3 separate regions of the Homo sapiens genome follow, and all the other regions are linked to region 1. Evidence: promoter capture Hi-C in 16 types of primary human blood cells and fetal thymus (Javierre and others, 2016). All regions are on one chromosome and are shown on one strand. The core of a region is centred on a gene start or on the middle of the fragment in contact, and the rest is flanking DNA. Distances in the headings are between cores, read along the strand shown. Region 1 holds the start of TSR1 (TSR1 ribosome maturation factor). Region 2 holds the start of PRPF8 (pre-mRNA processing factor 8). Region 3 overlaps PRPF8 (pre-mRNA processing factor 8).

The links. Contacts are between HindIII fragments. The CHiCAGO score rates a contact against its expected background, and 5 or more counts as called.
Region 2: a contact is called between the fragment with the promoter of PRPF8 here and the fragment with the promoter of TSR1 in region 1, in 13 of 17 cell types (total CD4 T cells, fetal thymus, naive CD8 T cells and 10 more). The highest score is 14.0, in total CD4 T cells.
Region 3: a fragment that was not itself captured here is called in contact with the fragment with the promoter of TSR1 in region 1 in 1 of 17 cell types (fetal thymus); the score reaches 5.1 in fetal thymus.

What each region holds. Positions count from the first base shown.
Region 1 is chr17:2,334,054-2,337,978 of GRCh38, reverse strand. It overlaps TSR1 (TSR1 ribosome maturation factor), which reads left to right and starts at 1,522. Exons shown (of 15, transcript NM_018128.5): 1 at 1,522-1,648; 2 at 1,839-1,942; 3 at 2,249-2,468; 4 at 2,585-2,719; 5 at 3,083-3,507. The coding sequence starts at 1,552. SGSM2 (small G protein signaling modulator 2) reads right to left here and starts at 478. Exons shown (of 24, transcript NM_014853.3): 1 at 234-478. The coding sequence starts at 290. RefSeq lists silencers at 1-104, 135-234, 335-444, 545-854, 885-1,014 and an enhancer at 1,245-1,354. The HindIII fragment of the contact is 5,731 bases long and covers 1-3,855 here.
Region 2 is chr17:1,682,426-1,686,666 of GRCh38, reverse strand. It overlaps PRPF8 (pre-mRNA processing factor 8), which reads left to right and starts at 1,800. Exons shown (of 43, transcript NM_006445.4): 1 at 1,800-1,887; 2 at 2,085-2,195; 3 at 2,966-3,134. The coding sequence starts at 2,096. The HindIII fragment of the contact is 11,873 bases long and covers 1-4,241 here.
Region 3 is chr17:1,657,847-1,661,679 of GRCh38, reverse strand. PRPF8 (pre-mRNA processing factor 8) reads left to right here. Exons shown (of 43, transcript NM_006445.4): 26 at 1-69; 27 at 274-409; 28 at 518-687; 29 at 853-982; 30 at 1,102-1,248; 31 at 1,679-1,839; 32 at 2,132-2,323; 33 at 2,917-3,154; 34 at 3,299-3,427. Among named protein-coding and RNA genes, the nearest start is that of RILP, 9.9 kb to the right of the region's middle. The HindIII fragment of the contact is 1,619 bases long and covers 493-2,111 here.

The DNA of each region.
Region 1 (3,925 bases), core at 273-2,772:
CTGCGGGGCTGCGAAGCAAACAAGCCGGGAGCGCCGGCCGGGTCCCCCGGGCAGAGGGGCGCTGCCCTCCCCCATCCGAGAAAGGGGAAGGAGGCGCAGCCCGTCCAGGACCCGCCCCGCCCGGCCCAGGTTCGGCCCGGGTGCCCGCGCCGGGGGGTGGGCGCGGACCTTTCTGCCCCCTGGGCCGCGCGGGCCAGGGCGCGAGCCCCCCGGGGTTCTTGACTCGACTTTACCTCCTTCTTCACGTTCCACAGCAGTTTCTCTTTGACTGCGTCCTCTGCGCTGCCCATGGTGTGGCAGGAGGCGGCGCCGAGCGGTCCTCAGAGCCCCCGCGCCCTCGCCGCCTCCGCGCCTCTCGGCTCAGCGCCCCACGCGCAAGGCGGAGCCCCCGCCCGCCGCGCTCCCGGCCCGCCGCCGCCGCCGCCGCCGCAGCCACTGCCCGGTGCTCGGCTCCGCAGCCATCTTCCGAGCCCCGCACAGACGTCAGGCGGCAGGCCCGGCCCCTTCCCACAGCCGGAGGGGGGTTGCGCACAGCGACGGGGGATCGGGGCGGGGAGAGGCCGTGCGCGCCTAGGGGCGGCAGACCCGGGCGCGCGCCACGGGGGTCGCTGTCATGGCAACGCACCCGCTCCCGCATGGAGGGCGCGAAGCCGCATTGTGAGCGCTGGCCCTGGAGCCCGCGGCCCCGCGGCTGAGAGCGAGCCTCGGTCCCGCTGAAGCTCCCCTGACTTCTGCCTGCTCCCTCTCCCGACGGGACGGAAAGGGCCGGGGCTCGGGCATGGGGTCCCCTGCGGTCCGAGCCTGCCCACGGCGAAGCCGGTGCAGCCTGGCCCCGTGACCCCTCTGAATCCCCGTCCGGCCGTCGCCGTGCAGTTGTCAAGTTTCTGGGAAGATTAGTGGGAGCGCAGCCGCCCGAGCCCGACGGCCGGAGGGTCGCGGCCAGTCCCCCTTGCCGGGTCGCCACGTCCCACAAGGTCCTTCCCGGCCGCTCCGTGGGAGGCGGGGCGCAGGTTGGAGTAACAGGGACGGGCTTGAGCTGGTACGGAACCGGGCAAGGTGAGAGAAGTGTCTTCCACGCGATTCCCAAGCCTCGCTAGGGAATCGAGGGAGAAGAAAGGTTGCTCAGAGTGATAAAGAACATGCCGTTGCAAACGGAAGAGCAACGTGCCCGAATCTAGGTGACAGGAAGGGCTTAGGCCTTTTCGGCACGAATGGAGCCTTCCAGTCAACATGCTTCTACGTGATGCAGCTTTATAGCGCAAAAAAATGACAATGCAAGGGGTACAAACAGCCCTGCTAGACCAACAGCCCGAGCCTCGACAGTCTACATCCGGCGCCTTCAAGCCCCCAACCACACACTGCGAAGTGGGAAAAGTTCCCAGCGCGGCTTGGCGAACCCGCTAACACGGCGCTCTCACGAGCTGCTGGAAAAGACCTTCGCGAGAGGGCGCAGGGAGTCCCGCTCCCTGGAGGGCCCGCCCCCTTGGAGGGGACCGGAAGCGCTTGTCCTGGCCCGGAAGCAGTGCTGACTCCGTACACGCGCGCTGCGGCATGGCGGCCCACCGCCCCGGCCCGCTCAAGCAGCAGAATAAAGCTCATAAAGGCGGACGGCATCGGGGTCGGGGATCTGCACAGCGGGACGGCAAGGGTAAGGAGATAACGTAGAAGGAATAAGGGCTATTTGGCCGTTATTAACTCTTTTTCCTCATGCCCAGACTGAGCTTCTGTCTCCCGTCTGGGCTCCACGCGAAAGGCCCTTTCTAAGGTGGGCGGAGAGGAGTCCCTTTTCTTGACCTTGTGGGGCCGATCACACCAGCCCCTTCTAATCTGCCATTCAGGCCGTCTGGCACTGAAAACCCTAAGCAAGAAGGTGAGAAAAGAACTCAGCAGAGTCGACCAGAGGCATCGCGCCAGCCAGCTCCGAAAGCAGAAGAAGGAGGCGGTGAGAGGAGCGGGATTTGGGAGAATGCGGCTTCTCTGGTGTTCTAGGTGGCTAATGCCTCGAAGTGGAAAATGAGACCGGGAGGAGGGTCCAGGGACAGAGCATAGCCCTAGAGCACGTGTCGAGCGTGCAGGTCTAGCATTCTTTGCTTTGGTCAGAATTCCTGCCACCCCGCTGGCATACCTGTGGTCTTTTACTAGAGAGATGCTGGTTTTGGGTAGGGGGAGCATCTGTGGGAGTGGAAATGCAATGCTGGAGTGAAGTACTGAGACACTGAGATGTTCTCGGATATCTTTCTATTTTCAGGTTCTGGCAGAGAAGAGACAGCTGGGTGGCAAGGATGGCCCTCCTCATCAGGTACTGGTGGTGCCCCTGCACAGCAGAATTTCCCTGCCAGAGGCCATGCAGCTGCTTCAAGATAGGGACACTGGAACAGTACACTTGAATGAATTGGGAAACACCCAGAACTTTATGCTGCTGTGCCCCCGCTTGAAACATCGGTGGTTTTTCACCTCAGCAAGGCCAGGTTAGAGTATACACCAATATTTTGTATTATGTTTGAGTAGTGGTATTTTTTTTTTTTTTTTTTAGAATAATGTGCTGGTGCCAACCACCTCTTCTTACTGTGTCTTCTATCTGCAGGGGATCTGCACGTTGTGTTAGACATGGCTAAAGTAGCTGATACCATCCTGTTCCTCCTTGATCCACTAGAAGGCTGGGACAGCACCGGTGATTACTGTCTTTCCTGCCTCTTTGCTCAGGGCCTTCCGACCTATAGTAAGTGAGTTAGCATTTATTGTGCACCTTTAATTTGTCAGGCACTATGCCTGGTATTTGATACAGGAATACAACTGATGGATCATATTCAGCTGGTGGTGGGATGTACACATATGGATTAAACTTGATCCATTGTTTACAGATTATCACTCAGGGTGTCTTTTTGTTTTTGGCTGTCCTTTGCCCAGAGAAACAAGGATATGAAGTTTGATTTCACTGTGAAATTCCTTCAGGGTAGTTCAGTGTTGGGCTTCCCAGTGATCTCTGGGCTTGCAACTGAGCTATTAGGTTGTTTGTGAACTGCAGAGGGATTTTTATGTAATGAAGCAGTAGGTCATGAAGCGTTTTCTCTTTCGCTTACAGCACTAGCTGTCCAGGGGATTTCTGGCCTCCCACTGAAGAAACAAATAGATACCAGGAAGAAGCTAAGTAAAGCAGTGGAGAAGCGCTTTCCGCATGACAAACTCCTCTTGTTAGACACTCAACAGGAGGCAGGGATGCTGCTTAGGCAGTTGGCTAACCAGAAGCAACAGCATCTTGCTTTTCGAGATCGGCGGGCCTACCTATTTGCCCATGCTGTTGATTTTGTTCCTAGTGAAGAGAATAACTTGGTGGGCACCTTGAAAATTTCAGGCTATGTTCGAGGGCAGACTCTGAATGTCAATAGGTTGCTGCATATCGTTGGATATGGTGATTTCCAGATGAAACAGATAGATGCCCCCGGAGACCCTTTCCCTTTAAATCCTAGAGGAATTAAACCCCAAAAGGACCCAGACATGGCAATGGAGGTAAGACTGATATTCTTAATTCATGTTCATATGAAAGTTGGCACAGGAAGGAAACTTAAATTCAGAGAAGATAGTCTGTACACTTAGGTGAATGAGGAGACTGCTAGTCTGAAGTAAGGCAATAGTCAGTTATAAATAGGTTGATAAATCACATATTTATCCAGCACTTTCTAGGTAGTCTGCACTGTGATTGGCTCTGAGTTTATAGAACACACTCAAGATGTGGTTGCTTTCCTCAAGGGACTTAATTGGGCTGGAACAAAATGGCATGTGTGAAATAAAGATTGAGATAGCATATGGTTAGAGTGCGGACCAGCAGTGGAAGTTGAGAAAGTAGACTAGCAAGCTTCACATAAGAGATCAGACTTGAGCTAGGTGTTGAGAAGGATAAATGTGATTTATGAGTTGAAGAGGGATA
Region 2 (4,241 bases), core at 551-3,050, 650 kb after region 1:
GGCACATGCCTGTAACCCCAGCTACTCAGGAGGCTGAGGCAGGAGAATCGCTTGAATCCTGGAGGCAGAGGTTGCAGTGAGCCGAGATTGTGACACTGCACTCCAGCCTGGCAACAGAGTGAGACTCTGCCTCAAAAAACAAAAAACAAACCAAAACCCCCACTTTTTTTCTATGAAACCAGCCTCGCTCTGTCACCCAGGCTGGAGTGCAGTGGTGCCATCATGATCCTCCCACCTCAGCCTCCCGAGTAGCTGGGACTACAGGCATGTACCACTATGCCTGGTTAATATTTTTATTATTTGTAGAGATGAGGGTCTCAGTATGTTGCCCAGGCTAGTCTTAAACTCATGAGTTTAACCAATCCTCTCGCCGCTGCCTCCCAACGTGCTAGGATTACAGGTATGAGTCACGGTGCCCGGCTTCTTTCTTAACTCTTTCTAGTAGTTCTACCACTTGGGATTACCTTTTTCCTTCCTCTCCATTTACCTTTATGAAATCCTCACATCCATCCATCTCCATCAAATCTTTAACAATTCTCCTCTGTCTTTTTTGACTGTAGGGACCTTTAGAACACCCAGCATTAAAAAATAGATTTCAGGCCGGGCATGGGGGCTCACGCCTGTAATCCCAGCACTTTGGGAGGGCCGAGGCAGGAGGATTTCGTAAGGTCAGGAGTTTGAGACCAGCCTGGCCAACATAGTGAAACCCTGTCTCTACTAAAAATCCAAAACTTAGCCGGCAGTAGTGGCGCGTGCCTGTAATCCAGCTACTCTGGAGACTGAGGCAGGAGAATTGCTTGATCCTGGGAGGTGGAGGTTGTGATGAATTGAGATCGCGCCATTGCACTCCAGTCTGGGCAACAGAGTGAGACCCTGTCTCAAAAAAACAAAAGGAATATTTTTTAAATTTTTACCGTTCTGAAAGCACATTGACATCCTTTGAATTTTTTTCTAATTATTTCACTTTGATTTGTAAATTCTCAACTAGATTCAGGGGCTGTATGGGTTACAATTCCTCTGCACCCTCCACAGAATTTCAGACTTTTTTTTTTCCCCCGAGACAGAGTCTCGCTCTGTCACCCAGGCTGGAGTGCAGTGGCGCGATCTTGGCTCACTGCAACCTCCCCCTCCCGGGTCAAGCGATTCTCCTGCCTCAGCCTCCCGAGTAGCTGGGACTACAGGCGCCCGCCACCACGCCCGGCTAATGTTTGTATTTTTAGTAGAGACGGGGTTTCACCATGTTGGCCAGGCTGGCCTCGAACTTCTGGCTTTAAGTGATCCGCCTGCCTCGGCCTCCCAAAGTGCTGCGATTCCAGGCGTGAGCCACCGCGCCCGGCCAAGGTCTTAATTCTTGCCTGCCTTTCTGCTCCCCTGTGAACTCTACTGGTTGTCTTTTTTCCTGCTTTATCCCTCGTCCTCGGTAGACAGTGATGGTTAAATGAATGAATGCATGAACAAATGACTGTCCAGGAGCTAGTACTGCATTGCATGTACACATTGATGACAACAGACATCGTACAATGCGCAATCTTGGCAAATTTATTCAAACCCTTTAGACTTCGCTCTCTCACAGTGCGACGCCGGGAGCCCATCACACGCTGAGGTCTGTCAGAGGCCCCAGAAACAGCCTCGGAAATGGAGGAGGCGGGGCTTCACCCCGACCACACCCCCTTGCGTTCAAAGCCTTTCCGCCTATGGGCCCGCCTCCTCGGCGCAGTGTGCAACTCTAATTGGTCGTCTCACTAATCCATCTGAGCACCTCGGCGCCGACTGGATCAACTGCTGAACTCGGGTTGCGCACTTCCCGGCGCTGGGAACGCGGAGCGGACGCAGTCTGGCCGCCATTGCGCTGCGGGGAAAGCGGCCTCTTGTGTGAGGGCCTGTGGGGTGCGTGGCAGGCGTTTAAGGCCGGGCTGCGGGAGGCGTGGTCGGGTCGGGCCGAGTGACCGAAGGGGTTAGGCCGGGCGGGGCTGGATGCACTGTGTGGCGGGACTGCAGGCCGGGGTCCCCGGACGCCTTTCTGCTGCGCTTCTTGTGGGCCCGGGCCTGTGGTTAGTGAATTTTTCTATCCCGCCGCTCCCCAGATTCTCCGGATATGGCCGGAGTGTTTCCTTATCGAGGGCCGGGTAACCCGGTGCCTGGCCCTCTAGCCCCGCTACCGGACTACATGTCGGAGGAGAAGCTGCAGGAGAAAGGTGAGGCGAGAGTGTGGAGCGGCGCGCGGGCCGGAGGCGGGGCGGGTGTGCGCGCGCGCAGGCGGGTGGGGACCCTCCCCGTTTGGGCAGCTCCTGAGGTGTCAGCTCCCTTGTTATTTCCAGTTAATTTTTCATCAAGTCATTTTAAGCGCGTATTATTTGCAAGCGCTGATCCAGCGGGGGTACAGTAGTGACGGAGACAAAATTCCTGTCCTTACGGGGTTTAAATTACAGCGGGAGAGACAGAGAATAACAAAACCTTGAAGCTCTGTAATAAAAATGTCAGGCCGGGCGCGGTGGCTCACGGTTGTAATCCCAGCACTTTGGGAGGCCCAGGCGGGCGGATCACCTGAGGTCAGGAGTTCGAGACCAGCCTGGCCAACACAGTGAAACCTCGTCTCTACGAAAAATACAAAAATGAGTCGTGTGTGGTGGCGCGTGTCTATAATCCCAGCTACTGGGGAGGCTGAGGCAGGAGAATGGCTTGAACCCAGGAGGCGGAGGTTGCAGTGAGCCGACATCGCACCATTGCACTCCAGCCTGGGAGACAGAGTGAAACAACCTCTCAAAAAAAAAAAAAAAAGTCAGATAGTGATCAATGTGATGAAAGGAAAAACAGAGTAAAATGGTAAGGGAATTGGCAAGGGGTGCTTCTTCCTGCTGGTGCCTGCTTCTCCCTCACACTCACTGACAGGAGCTTACCCTAGGGCAAGAGGTGAAGAGGATTAGGGGGAGGGTGTGCAGGCCTTTAAACTGAGGTGCCTTTCCAGCTCGAAAATGGCAGCAATTGCAGGCCAAGCGCTATGCAGAAAAGCGGAAGTTTGGGTTTGTGGATGCCCAGAAGGAAGACATGCCCCCAGAACATGTCAGGAAGATCATTCGAGACCATGGAGACATGACCAACAGGAAGTTCCGCCATGACAAAAGGGTTTACTTGGGGTAAGGAACATCCTGAAATAATTTCATTTGGAATTTGGCCCTTTTCCCTTCTCCCTGTCCCACAGTCTTGGATTGATGCTTTGACAGCTCATCTTGGTGGATATAAGAGAAAGGAGAAAACCAGTAGGAGTCTCTGATAATTTCTACATCTTCCACTTTTGCAGTCTGTTTCCCCTCTCTTCCCGATCTGGGACTGGTGCTTTAATTTGTCCTGTTGATGATATTATAAGATGTCCCTGGCCAGGCGCGGTGGCTCATGCCTGTAATCCCAGCACTTTGGGAGGCCGAGGCGGGTGGATCATGAGGTCAGGAGATCGAGACCATCCTGGCTAACACGGTGAAACCCCGTCTCTACTAAAAATACACAAAATTAGCTGGGCGTGGTGGCAGGTGTCTGTAGTCCCAGCTACTTGGGAGGCTGAGGCAGGAGAATGGCGTGAACCTGGGAGGCGGAACTTGTAGTGAGCCGAGATCACACCACTGCACTCTGGCCTGGGCGAAAGTACGAGACTCCGTCTCAAAAAAAAAAAAAAAATGAAAAATAAGATGTCCCTATGGTTGAGCTGGTTGAAGTCCAGAGTGGGATACTGTGCATAGTGGCAGCCTGTCGCTCCTCAGGGACCTGAATTCTGTGTTTGGGGTATTTAATTTCAGAGGTTTCCCTACTCCTGTTTTTTCTGTGGCTCTAAACTGGGCTAGTACAGGTACAGATGTCTTAGCAGATTCCTGTTCTATTTGGACACAAAAATGTTTGCCATGTAATGAACTGGAAGTTTTGTTTATTTCAAAAAATACTTAGAGAACTGTGCTGGCTGCTGGGGATATAGTAGCGAGCAGAGGGTAACAATCTCCGCCTTTCTGCAGTGTGCGGTCTAGTGGCCTGACAGACATGAGACAACTGGTGATAGTGAAGTATGGTGAATACTTTATTATGATTTATGGGAAGATGCGGAGGGAATAGGATGTGAGAGAGCCGCAAAGCTGTCTCCAGAGGGATAGCCGTTGATTTAGAGGAGCTGATACCAGCATTGTGGGATTATGACGTTTAAGAAGAGTGGTGCAAGGTGAAGTTGGAGAGGGAGAGGCAGGGTTTCTGGTTAGGAAGGG
Region 3 (3,833 bases), core at 53-2,552, 680 kb after region 1:
GTTCATTGATTCTCAGCGGGTCTGGGCTGAGTACGCACTCAAGAGGCAAGAGGCCATTGCTCAGAACAGGTGGGCACCTAGGAGGGCATGCCAACCCTGGGGCAGGGGCAGTGGTGGCCTTTGAACCGTGTGGAGTTCAGGGTCAGAGCATGCCATGGTTGTATGGAGGTGAGAAGGCTGGTTCTACTGACCCTAATTATTTTTGGCCAGGAAGGAGTGCTGAGCTCCTCATATGAGATCACGTTTTGACTTGAATCTTTCTTTTTTTGGAAGACGCCTGACTTTAGAAGACCTAGAAGATTCATGGGATCGTGGCATTCCTCGAATCAATACCCTCTTCCAGAAGGACCGGCACACACTGGCTTATGATAAGGGCTGGCGTGTCAGAACTGACTTTAAGCAGTATCAGGTATGTAGAGGGAGCAGATTTTCCCTGAGTCAGGAAAATCCATGGCTATCCCCGAAACTTGGGGCAATAGGCACCCAGAAGCTTGACCGTGCCTGCCTTGCCATCTAGGTTTTGAAGCAGAATCCGTTCTGGTGGACACACCAGCGGCATGATGGGAAGCTCTGGAACCTGAACAACTACCGTACAGACATGATCCAGGCCCTGGGCGGTGTGGAAGGCATTCTGGAACACACACTCTTTAAGGGCACTTACTTCCCTACCTGGGAGGGGCTTTTCTGGTGAGGATTCTCCTCTCTTAGAGGGACCTGTCACAACCCTTTGAGCTCATCTCTTGTATGCCTCTGTGATTTCCTGTGGTGTTTCCCAGACAGCCACCTCCAGGAGGTTAGCAGTGTGCTGGGAAATGGCAGGATATCACCTCACCTGCTTCTCTTGCTCCCCAGGGAGAAGGCCAGTGGCTTTGAGGAATCTATGAAGTGGAAGAAGCTAACTAATGCTCAGCGATCAGGACTGAACCAGATTCCCAATCGTAGATTCACCCTCTGGTGGTCCCCGACCATTAATCGAGCCAATGTGAGTGTGATTGACACTGGAGAGGGGAAGCTAAAGACAGTTGCTGCTTCTTGCCTTGGTTATGTCGTGAGCGCCCGAGTCTCTTGATCTCTAATGTCACATTGTCGTTTTCCTGGCAGGTATATGTAGGCTTTCAGGTGCAGCTAGACCTGACGGGTATCTTCATGCACGGCAAGATCCCCACGCTGAAGATCTCTCTCATCCAGATCTTCCGAGCTCACTTGTGGCAGAAGATCCATGAGAGCATTGTTATGGACTTATGTCAGGTGGGCTGGAATCGAGGGGAGAGGGTACTGTAGAGAGTCAGCTCAGGTGGAATTGAGGGGAGAGGGTACTGTACAGAGTCAGCTCAGGTGGAATCGAGGGGAGAGGGTACTGTACAGAGTCAGCTCAGGTGGAATCGTGGGGAGAGGGTACTGTAGAGAGTCAGCTCAGGTGGAATCGCAGGGAGAGGGTGCTGTACAGAGTCAGCTTAGGTGGAATCGCGGGGAGAGGGTGCTGTACAGAGTCAGCTCAGGTGGAATCGCGGGGAGAGCGTGCTGTACAGAGTCAGCTCAGCTTGCTCTTTTGCATATGGGAAATCCACCCTGGAAGCTCTGAGGATGAGACTCCTATTGCCTCATTATCTTATTGTACAAACTCTGATTTTAATTGGGCTTCCTTAACAAGTCTTAATCTCTCCATGTTTTCCTTCAGGTGTTTGACCAGGAACTTGATGCACTGGAAATTGAGACAGTACAAAAGGAGACAATCCATCCCCGAAAGTCATATAAGATGAACTCTTCCTGTGCAGATATCCTGCTCTTTGCCTCCTATAAGTGGAATGTCTCCCGGCCCTCATTGCTGGCTGACTCCAAGTAAGTGCCTCAGGACCCAGCCCTAGGCAGCCAGGACACTTTCGTTTTCCTGTTCTTCTAGCCCTGCAACTTTAGGAATTGTCCTGTCTGCCTTTGTTTCAAACTTGGAGCCAGTGCTACGCTTGGAGCCTGTCAACACCCTTAGTCAGATCTGCTGATTCTCTGGGGTCCTGCTGACCTGGAACAAGTTGGTGGAGTGGGTGGGATGGTTTTGGGATTTAAGTGGTTCTGGTTCTGGGGACATTGGTTATGCCCATGGTTTCTTAGAAGCTTGAACCCTCTTCATCCTCAGGGATGTGATGGACAGCACCACCACCCAGAAATACTGGATTGACATCCAGTTGCGCTGGGGGGACTATGATTCCCACGACATTGAGCGCTACGCCCGGGCCAAGTTCCTGGACTACACCACCGACAACATGAGTATCTACCCTTCGCCCACAGGTGTACTCATCGCCATTGACCTGGCCTATAACTTGCACAGGTGAGTTGAGGCTCAGGACCATGTATTTTCAGGCCAGGCGCAGTGGCTCACACCTGTAATCCCAGCACTTTGGGAGGCCGCGGTGGGCAGATTGTCTGAGCTCAGGAGTTTGAGACCAGTCTGGGCAACATGGTGAAACCCTGTCTCTACCAAAATACAAAAAATTAGCTGGGCGTGGTGGTCCACGCCTGTAGTCCCAGCTACTCAGAAGGTTGAGGTGGGAGAATTACTTGAACCCGGGAGGCGGAGCTTGCAGTGAACCGAGATTGCGCCACTGCACTCCAGCCTGGGCGACAGAGTGAGACTCCATCTCAAAGAAAAATAATAATAATAATAAATAAATAAATAATCCGTGTATTTTCCATTAGCTCCATACTTTAACGTAGTCATACTTTTTTACTTTACCTAAGTGAGAGGAAGTGGCCCATTCCTCCTATGGGTCACTGATTCTCTTCTCCAGCCTGTATGTACACATGAGCAGAGTGTTGTCAGCCTGGCGAACAGTCTTTCTTCCTCTGTAGAGTTGGCAGCTTGTCTTGTTTCTGGGGCTGTCATTCTCGTCTTAACTTTTCTTGACCCTTTTATCCTCACAGTGCCTATGGAAACTGGTTCCCAGGCAGCAAGCCTCTCATACAACAGGCCATGGCCAAGATCATGAAGGCAAACCCTGCCCTGTATGTGTTACGTGAACGGATCCGCAAGGGGCTACAGCTCTATTCATCTGAACCCACTGAGCCTTATTTGTCTTCTCAGAACTATGGTGAGCTCTTCTCCAACCAGATTATCTGGTTTGTGGATGACACCAACGTCTACAGAGTGACTATTCACAAGGTGAGTGTTAGCAGCAGTGTATAGGTGCGGGACTCTGTACATGGCTGTGGGAGAGTAATGGGCTAAGTGTGTACACATGCTGGGAAGAAGGCAGGATGGGGATGTGTTGTGTAGGCCATGCTAACGAATGCCGTCCTCCTCTAGACCTTTGAAGGGAACTTGACAACCAAGCCCATCAACGGAGCCATCTTCATCTTCAACCCACGCACAGGGCAGCTGTTCCTCAAGATAATCCACACGTCCGTGTGGGCGGGACAGAAGCGTTTGGGGCAGGTGAGCAGGTTTAAAGATGAAGAGGCTGTAGAACCATGTTGCCTCTTATTCTTGGGGTGGACTTGGTAATATTTACTGGTTTATTAGATGAAAGGCTGAGAACATCTCATTTGAACTTATCCCCAAAATACCTTGGGAAGTATTCTGTGGGAGGTCCAAGAGTGTATGAGGTGCTTCGTTCCCTTCCAGCTGGTCTGTTTCCTGAATTTCTAACCTTGAACAGGGCTATCAAAAATCATTTTTCCAAAGGCAACGCATACTCTTTTTTTTTTTTTTTTTTTTTAGCCGGAGTCTCGCTGTGTGGCCCAGGCTGGAGCACAGTGGCTCAATCTCGGTTCACTGCAAGCTCCGCCTCCCGGGTTCACGCCATTCTCCTGCCTTAGCCTCCCGAGTAGCTGGGACTACA